3 separate regions of the Homo sapiens genome follow, and all the other regions are linked to region 2. The links are contacts of gene promoters, found by promoter capture Hi-C in blood cells and fetal thymus (Javierre and others, 2016). All regions are on one chromosome and are shown on one strand. The core of a region is centred on a gene start or on the middle of the fragment in contact, and the rest is flanking DNA. Distances in the headings are between cores, read along the strand shown. Region 1 overlaps PRKCH (protein kinase C eta). Region 2 holds the start of LINC03033 (long intergenic non-protein coding RNA 3033). Region 3 overlaps PRKCH (protein kinase C eta).

The links. Contacts are between HindIII fragments. The CHiCAGO score rates a contact against its expected background, and 5 or more counts as called.
Region 1: a fragment that was not itself captured here is called in contact with the fragment with the promoter of LINC03033 in region 2 in 7 of 17 cell types (neutrophils, monocytes, activated CD4 T cells and 4 more); the score reaches 17.5 in neutrophils.
Region 3: a fragment that was not itself captured here is called in contact with the fragment with the promoter of LINC03033 in region 2 in 2 of 17 cell types (activated CD4 T cells and neutrophils); the score reaches 8.1 in activated CD4 T cells.

The regions. Positions count from the first base shown.
Region 1 is chr14:61,491,675-61,494,374 of GRCh38, forward strand. The region is part of intron 10 of PRKCH (protein kinase C eta); the gene reads left to right. Among named protein-coding and RNA genes, the nearest start is that of PRKCH-AS2, 52 kb to the right of the region's middle. The HindIII fragment of the contact is 5,736 bases long and covers 1-2,700 here.
Region 2 is chr14:61,569,277-61,572,024 of GRCh38, forward strand. LINC03033 (long intergenic non-protein coding RNA 3033) reads left to right here and starts at 1,264. Exons shown (of 3, transcript NR_039985.1): 1 at 1,264-1,484. It overlaps LINC01303 (long intergenic non-protein coding RNA 1303), which reads right to left and starts at 1,377. Exons shown (of 5, transcript NR_110416.1): 1 at 1,210-1,377; 2 at 268-401. RefSeq lists a silencer at 362-554. The HindIII fragment of the contact is 753 bases long and covers 931-1,683 here.
Region 3 is chr14:61,445,415-61,448,212 of GRCh38, forward strand. It overlaps PRKCH (protein kinase C eta), which reads left to right. Exons shown (of 14, transcript NM_006255.5): 4 at 278-312. Among named protein-coding and RNA genes, the nearest start is that of PRKCH-AS2, 99 kb to the right of the region's middle. The HindIII fragment of the contact is 6,096 bases long and covers 1-2,798 here.

The DNA.
Region 1 (2,700 bases), core at 154-2,653, 77 kb before region 2:
CCCTCAAATGGGGTCTTCCCTTTTCCCGTAGTGAAACTCATCAGCCACTGTTCTGCACCCTTGCATGGCCTCTGGAGATCTTTTAACAAGTATTTGTTGAGCGTCACCCTTCTGCCAAGGATATGGATGTAATGGTATGAGCAAAAACAAAAATACTCGCCAGTGGAGGGTATGATCCAGTGAGGGAGAAAGATGTCAATCAAATGATTATACCAATAAAAAGTAGCAACCATGACTAGTGCTATGAAGAGGAGAAATACAATGCAGTGAATGAGAACCTAGAATAGGGTGATTCTATCCAGTTAGGGAAAGATGGAAGATTTTTATAAGGAAGTGACTCTTGGGCTGAGGTCACGGTAAAGAGGGAAGGAAGGAACATTTGAGACAGAAGAAACAGCAAACGCAGATAGATGCCCAGTAACAGGAAGGAGTGTGGCAAGGTCAGGGGTTTTTAGAGCAGGCCAGCCTGGCTGGAGTCTAGGAAGCGTATCTTACTTCACTTGGCATTTTATTATCCTACAGTGTTCAGTCAGCTGATGACTTCAAGATTTTATTAAACACTCCTTGTAAATAATTTATTTGAAGGTTAGGTAAGGCCGGTCATGTTGCCAATCCCTGGAGGAGCCATCTATTCACAGTGAGTTCTCTGTGTCCAGGTCTGTGCATTTATACTCAACAATGGGTTTATAAAATATTAGAGCCAGAGGAGACCTCAAACGTTGCTAAGGGCCAAGTTATCTTTTACAGATGAGGGACTTCAGGTGTGAAACGTCCAAAAATTGTTTCTCATAGTGGATATTCTCTTCGGATGACTCATCTGCTGTTTGCTTTCCATCTCCAGGAAAACAAAAATATGGCTAGAAAATTTTGTTTCAGTCTTCAACTTACAGCTGGCATGAAGAGCAAACCAAGACATTTTGAGGCATTCAACCCTGTTTACTCCATTGCAGTGAGAAAAATCCAGTTGAGATCAGAACATATTTCCTGAGCTGCCACCTAGTGCCGGATGTTGCATTAGGAGGTGTAGATACAAGATGAGTAGATGAGATGTCTGCCCTTTGAGGCGCTTTCTGTGGGGTGAGAGAGATAGCCATTAATAAGTCATGGCAGCTGGGTTCCAAAATTGGAGTTTTCCCAGGGTATCTTGGGAGCAGACAGAATGGCCACTTGCCCTAAGATGGATGTTCAGGCAAACTTCCTGGAGGAGGTGATGCCTGAGCTGAGTGTGAAGAGTTAAAAGCTGAACAAAGATAAGGAGGGTGTTTAGGTAGGGGAGCAAGTTTGAGCAAAGCAGAGAAGTGTGGTGAATGTGTAGTTAAAGTGGAAAATGACAGGAACTTTGGTAGCACTGGAGCCTGAAGTTGGAGGCATGGGAAGAGGGAAGGCTAGAGGAGGCTGCAGAAATGAAGTATTAAGCACTTACTGTTCTTGAGATGTTTGAATTCTGGGTCACTTAGGACTTTGCTCCATTGCCTATCACAGGAAACATAAAAATGACAGTGGCTTAAGCCAGATGGAAACATAGTGCTCTCTCACATGAAAAGCCTGGAGGTAGGTAGTCCAGCCCCGCCATGGAAGCTCCGTGGAGTCATTTGCAACCCAGATTTCTGTGCTTTCTGTTCTGCTGTAGACAGGGTCACGTCCTTGTCTAAATGGTTGCTGAAGATCTAGGAATCATCTCTCTATTCCAATTCCATGTAGTAAGAAGGGCTAGAGGGCATTCCTCCAAACTGAGTCAGCTCCCTTTAAGGGGCCTCCTGGAATTCCACACAGTACTTACCATGGAATTGGCCAGAACTTGATCATATGGCTGAGTCTAGCTCCAGTGAAAGCCAAGAAATACAGTATTACAAGTGGCCATGTTCCAGCTAAAAATCAGCATTCCATTATTAAGAAGGGAAAGAATCATTATTTGATAGAAAACTTGCAGTGTCAGACACAAATTCCATGCCAGGGAGTCTGGGCTTTATGGAGCAGGTAACCTTTGAAGAATTCTCAGCAGGTCTTATGACATGAGTGGATTTATATTTTACTTTTACGTGCGGGTGGGGGGCATGGCATGTGTGGACATACCCATGGTAAGCAGCAGCCAGGTTGCAAGGGAGAGGTTCATTTTGAGGCAGTTGCAGAGTTCCAAGTAACAAGATAATGAGGACCTGAACTAAGACAGTGATGGTAGGGCTGATGAGAAAGGCATAAGAGATAATAGCAAGTAAAGCTGATAGGACTTAGTATTTGGGTGGATTCAGGGTAAAAAAGAAACCGGAAATCATTTCCAGGTGTTTAGCTAGAAGGTTGAGTGGATGGCAGTGCCATTAGCTAGGAGAGATCATGTGCCTAGGAAGAAGTCTAGGCAAAAGAGGAAGAAGTTTTAGAAAGGTTGTATGACAGGTGCCTGAGGTATACTCCAGTGGAGATGCTCCATGGATAGGGGCATAGGAGTCTGAAGCTCAGTAAAGAGGATGGGCTGAATTAAATATTTGGAAGTCATCAGGACATAGCTATTAGTTGAGACCACGAGACTGAATGAGATCACCCAATAGGAGTCTCTTAAATGGAACAGTGTGAGTCAAGGACAGAACCCTGGGGAACCAGACTCCATTAGAAATCTGCCTAAATTTGGCTCCAGGGTTATAGAAACAATTGGTATGTTCATCATTTAGAGTAAGTATCCCCAAAGTGCCAGTGTATTAAAAATAT
Region 2 (2,748 bases), core at 14-2,513:
GTGCTCCAAATATCTGCTCTGGGAGGGACTTGCAGATGATCCTGATTGGAAATGAGGCTGATTAACCTTTTGTGTATCATTGACTCTAGGACAATCTGTTGAAACCTAGGGGCTCTTACCCTAGACAAATTAACACACCAGCCAGATACAGCTTACAAGGGCAGAGAGTTGCTGGTTTGAACCACAGACCCCTGGTTTAACATCTGTAATCTAGTCAACCCCTCCTCTTTCTTGAAGGCTGAACCAAACACGAAGGGTTTTCCCCACCTTCCAATCCTCATACATGCAGACACCCCCTTTTCCTGCTTTCTCCTTCAGTCATCTTCCTCACCATCCCCCATGCTTGGGCACTCTCAGGAGGGAAATTGTCCTATAAATATCTGTAAAAGGCATGGTATGTCCTGTAGCAGAGAAAGCAAAAAATAAAAATATAATTCCTCCACCCCTGGCATGGCACGTGCAGAGCTCTGCCTGATCCTTCTCTCCCACAAGCCTCGGGGGTGGGTAAACAAAAGTGAGAGGTGAAGCTGCTGCAGCGAAGTACCCCTTCAAAATCTTCAGTACCCTTCAGAGCCAGCGCTGTCATCACTATCACATAAACTGTACAACTCCAACGTCAACCAGCAGCCGCCTGGCTGGCAGCAGGAAGAGCCAATGCAATTTTGCACAGTGGCTTGCTTGCCCAAGGTATTGCCTGGCAAATGGGCTTCTTGTGCAATGGGGAACCACAGGGAGGGGCCTCTTAAATGTACCTCAAAGAAACAGCTCTAACAATGGATGATTCAACAGGCTAGTAATTGGCGCTCACTCTTACCACATTGTTTTGATAAAACGACATAGCCCAACTGGGGATATGAAGGCAGTAAGTAGAAAAGCTAACCTCTTGCTACTCAAATTGTGGCTGAGAACCAGCGACATCCCATCACCAGAAGCTTTATAGAAAAGCCAGGCTCTGTCCCAGACCTATTGAAAGGAGATCTGCATTTTAACATGATTGCGAGAGGATCCACATCTTAAAGTTTCAGAGGCCTAATCCAAAGTCTTCTGATAATGATCATTAGAGTCCCAGCCACCCCCGACTTCCCCCTGGGAAAACCACAACAAATAGAACAAATTCCTCCAAGCTCTGCTCATAAGAAGAACCCACAACCCACAGACACCCCCTCACTCAACTAGAGACCTCACCCACCTGTTTGCAGAGTCACCCACCTTGGGCTACTTCTTTTCTACTATTTAATCTTCTGGGAAAACAGAGGTCTTCTATTTGGAGATAAAAATGACAAAGGAGAACCTCCTGAACAGCATCCAGTTTGCTTTTAGCTTTAGCCATCTCTCTGACCTCAGTGCTGCTGGACTCAGTTCCAAGATCTAACTGTCAAATGCTTTAGGGGAAACGGGAAGAGAAGTCCCTGGAGTAACCCATGTGCGCAGCCTGGCACTGTTTTCACTTGCCTTTGGAAATGAAGGTGCAGAAACCATGGGAGGTAAGGAGGGCACAGACTAGTGACTTCCAGTGTGGGACAGAGGGGAAAAGATGGAAGAGAAGTGCAGAAAACCACTCGGGAAAAGACAGGCTGGAGTGATGCCTGCTGAGACAGGGCCCTGATCTCCCAGGACTTCCCTTTCTGCCTGTTCTGTAGAAATGTCTCGGGTTTTGTGGTTTAGGAAAAGAGATGCTTAGCAAGCTTGTAGAAAATGTAATGTGGGCACTTTGTTGCTGTCCTGGCTTTTAAAGGACTCTGAAGCAGATCAGCTTCAAGGTATTGGCTATTCTGTTTGCAGCCTTAGAAAGACATCCTTGATGTTTTATTGTTCTGCCTTTGCTAAGAGCTGGAAACTCTCCCTGGGGAAATGGCTCACCTTGAAAGAGATGCTATCGTAGCTGAAAATGTTTTAGCTTCACTTCCAATCTCTGGTTCCTTGTGGGAAGTAACTGCTGCTGTGGTATATATGCCCTGTGCCTTTTATTTTTACCATCTTTACCTCGGTGGACACAGCTGGTTGAAACTCAGTAAAACTTATGCTTCCATGGAGATTGATTCAGACAACAGGAAAAATAAGTGTAGAAAAAAACTGCACAGTACAAGGGCTAGATTCAGGTTGTAGAACAAAGTGATTATTACTTAGAATCCTGGATTAGCAAGAGAATAAGAAAGATGCTGAGATTACCTAGTGTTATCACCATCCACGTGAAACGTAGAATAAAACTTTTTCCCCACCACATAGATATTGGGCAGTTTATTATAGATGCTACAAAGGGATTTATTATATTTTTCCCAAAATGGTTAATTAGAGGCATCCCAAATTACAACTCCTTTAGCATAACTCCCAGCTCCATGCAGCCTACTTACTAAGGACCCAGCTACTGACAGCTCAGCTCTTTGCCAATCCAACTTTTTTTCCCCATATGCTCAAACTTTTCTTCTCCAAGAAGACTTCCTGAATGATCCCAATTCATAGGGATCTCATCCTTAATGCAGGGGAAATTCACTGTTCTGGAGTAGTCTACCATACCATCACGCTCTTCTTTTTGTGTAATCCTGGATTTCTTCTCCAGTTGTTTTATTCTTGCCTGTCTACACAGATAGATCAGTAGCCTTCAATAGTCTGCATCTCCTGTTATCTTGCAGCCTCCTACTATAAACAGTAGGTGCTTTACTTATGCCAGTTGGGTTGACCTAGACAGTAGTCTCTAAGTAGCAGTCCTTGGCTCATCCTTCTGAAACCAACGAGCTCTTAGGCAGGCTG
Region 3 (2,798 bases), core at 221-2,720, 120 kb before region 2:
TGCCACTGAGGACTTAGGAAATTGCCATGGAGGTAGATGGAATGGGAATGGTTTTTACCCACCCATTTGTATCATACAGCACATTCTAATCCAGCACATGGTTTTTTCTGGTGTCTCATAGTAACAAACAATGGCTCAGAAAGCACATGATCTTTGCTTCTTCCCTGAAATTGTGTTTTTCATAAAGGAGGAGAGGATGAAATTTGTTTTCCTTAAGGACTATAAGAGGGTTATTGCTGAAATACTTGACTGATGGTAGTTTTCTTCTCTTCAACAGGGGAGTGTTTGGGAAACAGGGTTATCAGTGCCAAGGTAAGGAAACATTTTTAAAACCATGTTTCATTTTGTTCCTATGTTAAAAGAAATGATTATACCAAGAGAAAACAGGGTATCTTCCCTTAATATTGTGATAAATAACTCTCTGTAGGTCAAAGGAAACCCCTGTGTAGATACAACTCTTTAGTTTGGTGAGATCTTGGCCATATTTTAGACAATGTAAAGGGGACGTTTTTATTTCTAAAGCCAGGATACCTAATAAATTTTCATTGTTTAAAGTCTTGTCTCTGCAGTAACATGAGAGTACTAAAAGGTAATGTGATTTTGTGAGCATACTCTTAAATTTTGAAGATAAACTTTTGTTTTTTACAATCCTATTGATAATAGATAGGGATGAAAAGTAGCACACTGCTGTTTTCTCTTTTTCCCCGTCCAGGGAACATAAGCTATTATCCAAGTTGTTTTTTGAAATGTTATGATTTCAAAAAAAAAAAAAAAAAGTGAGAAATGTTCAAAGTTAAGCTGTCAGTGATCTTGTAAGTTACTACATGTTATATTTAGTTTTCACAATCTAAGATGAAACCAATTTACTAGTGTTTCTAGCATAATTGGAAAGAAATACAATGGCAGGAATGGAAGAAGAGCCCTCAGTCAGGTGGTTTAGCCAGGCCCATCAGGCTTGCCTGTCATTTGGGTTCCCCCTTAACCTTTGACATGAGTATCATCACATAGTTTATACACATGGTACCTGTTTCACTATGTGGATGATTGATAAAATAGCACCACATATCCTAGAGCAGTAGCCTATGTGTGGATAAGAAAATCTCACCTTCTCTTCTGGAAGATGTGAGGTAAAACATTACTTCCCTTGGATGGACTGAATAAGACATACTCTTGGATCTAATTTTGACTTTACTATGTATGAACAATTCCATTGAACTTTCAAAGTTAGGAAAAAACAAATATATAATCAATATGACAGCAATAATTGACCTGTATGCTGTTAATCTCAGTCCCAAGTGAGAAGACAGTTCACAAGCCAGAATCGCTGTCACTTTGTGGCATGGGCCTGTGAGCACAGGAATATGCCCTGCAGTCCATGGTAGCCCATCTTATGCACACCAAGATAAGTTGAGAAGCTCTGGATAAACAAGATTATGGTTTTGAGTTTAAAACATGGGATTTAAGATACATCTCTATTGTTATTTTATTTCTTTTTCTCTTTGTCCTATAGTGCCTGGATATTTGATGGCCTGATTTTCAGTGGGTCACCTGCTATGTAAAGAGCAGGGAAGACTATTAGTTAGGAGACATGCAGACACCACTTTGGTGATGTCTCCCTAAGGCATATAAAACCAAATGCCTGGTTGGAGAGAGGTATGCCATTCTAACACTGATCAAAAGCAAACTGGCATAGGTATTTCAGACAGAGCAGACTTCAGAAAAAGGAAAATTATCAGGAATAAAGAGGGGACAACAATAAAGGGGTCAGTTTTCCAAGAAGACTTAACATTTTTATTTGTTTTGTTTTATTTAAAGACCAGTGTAGTAGTACATAACAATTTTTAACATGTATGTATGTACCTAGCAACAGGAATCAAAATACATGGGACAAACTGATAGAATCACAAGGAAAAATGAACAAATCCACTTCTATAGTTGGAGACTTCAATATCTCAGTAATTGATAGATCCAGCAGGCAGGGAATCAGTAGGGATATAGGTGATCTAAACAGCATTATCACAACTAGGTGAAATTGACGTTTATAGAATACTTCATCCAACAACAGCAGTTTTCACATTCTTCTCGGGCTCACAGGGGACATTTACCAACATAGACCACATTCTGGGCCATAAAACATACCTTACCAAATTTAAAAGAAGAGAAACCATAAACGGTATCTTCTTAGACCACAATGGAATTAAACTAGAAATCAATTACTGTAAGATAGCTGGAAAATCCCCAAATATTGGAAGGTTAAATGTCACATTCTAAGTAACACATGGGTCAAAGAAGAAGACTCAAGAGAACATAAAAAATATTTAGAGTCAAGTGAAAATGAAAATATAACTTATAAAAATATGTGTGATCCAGCAAAAGCAGTGCTCAGATGGGAATGTATATATCATTAAATGCATACAGTAGGAAAGTAGAAAGATCTAAAACCAAGATTCGAAATTTCCACCTTAGGAAACTAGAGAAGGAAGATAAATTTAAGCCTCAAGCGAGCATAAGAAAAGAAATAATACAATTAGAACAGAAATCAGTGAAGTTGAAAATAGGAAAACAACAGAGAAAATCCATGAAATCAAATGCTGATTCTTTGAAAGGATTAATTGATAAGCCTTTACCAAGCTAACCAGGAAAAAACCAAATACCTCAAAAAATAAAGTATTTCTGTGTGAAGGATGGTTTTGAGATCCCCTCATATAAAAAGACCAGTTCTCTGGGCACTTTCAATTTGGTTCTCCTGAGAATTGAATCTGATGAAAGCTAGATTTGTTTTAAGGTATGATGCTATT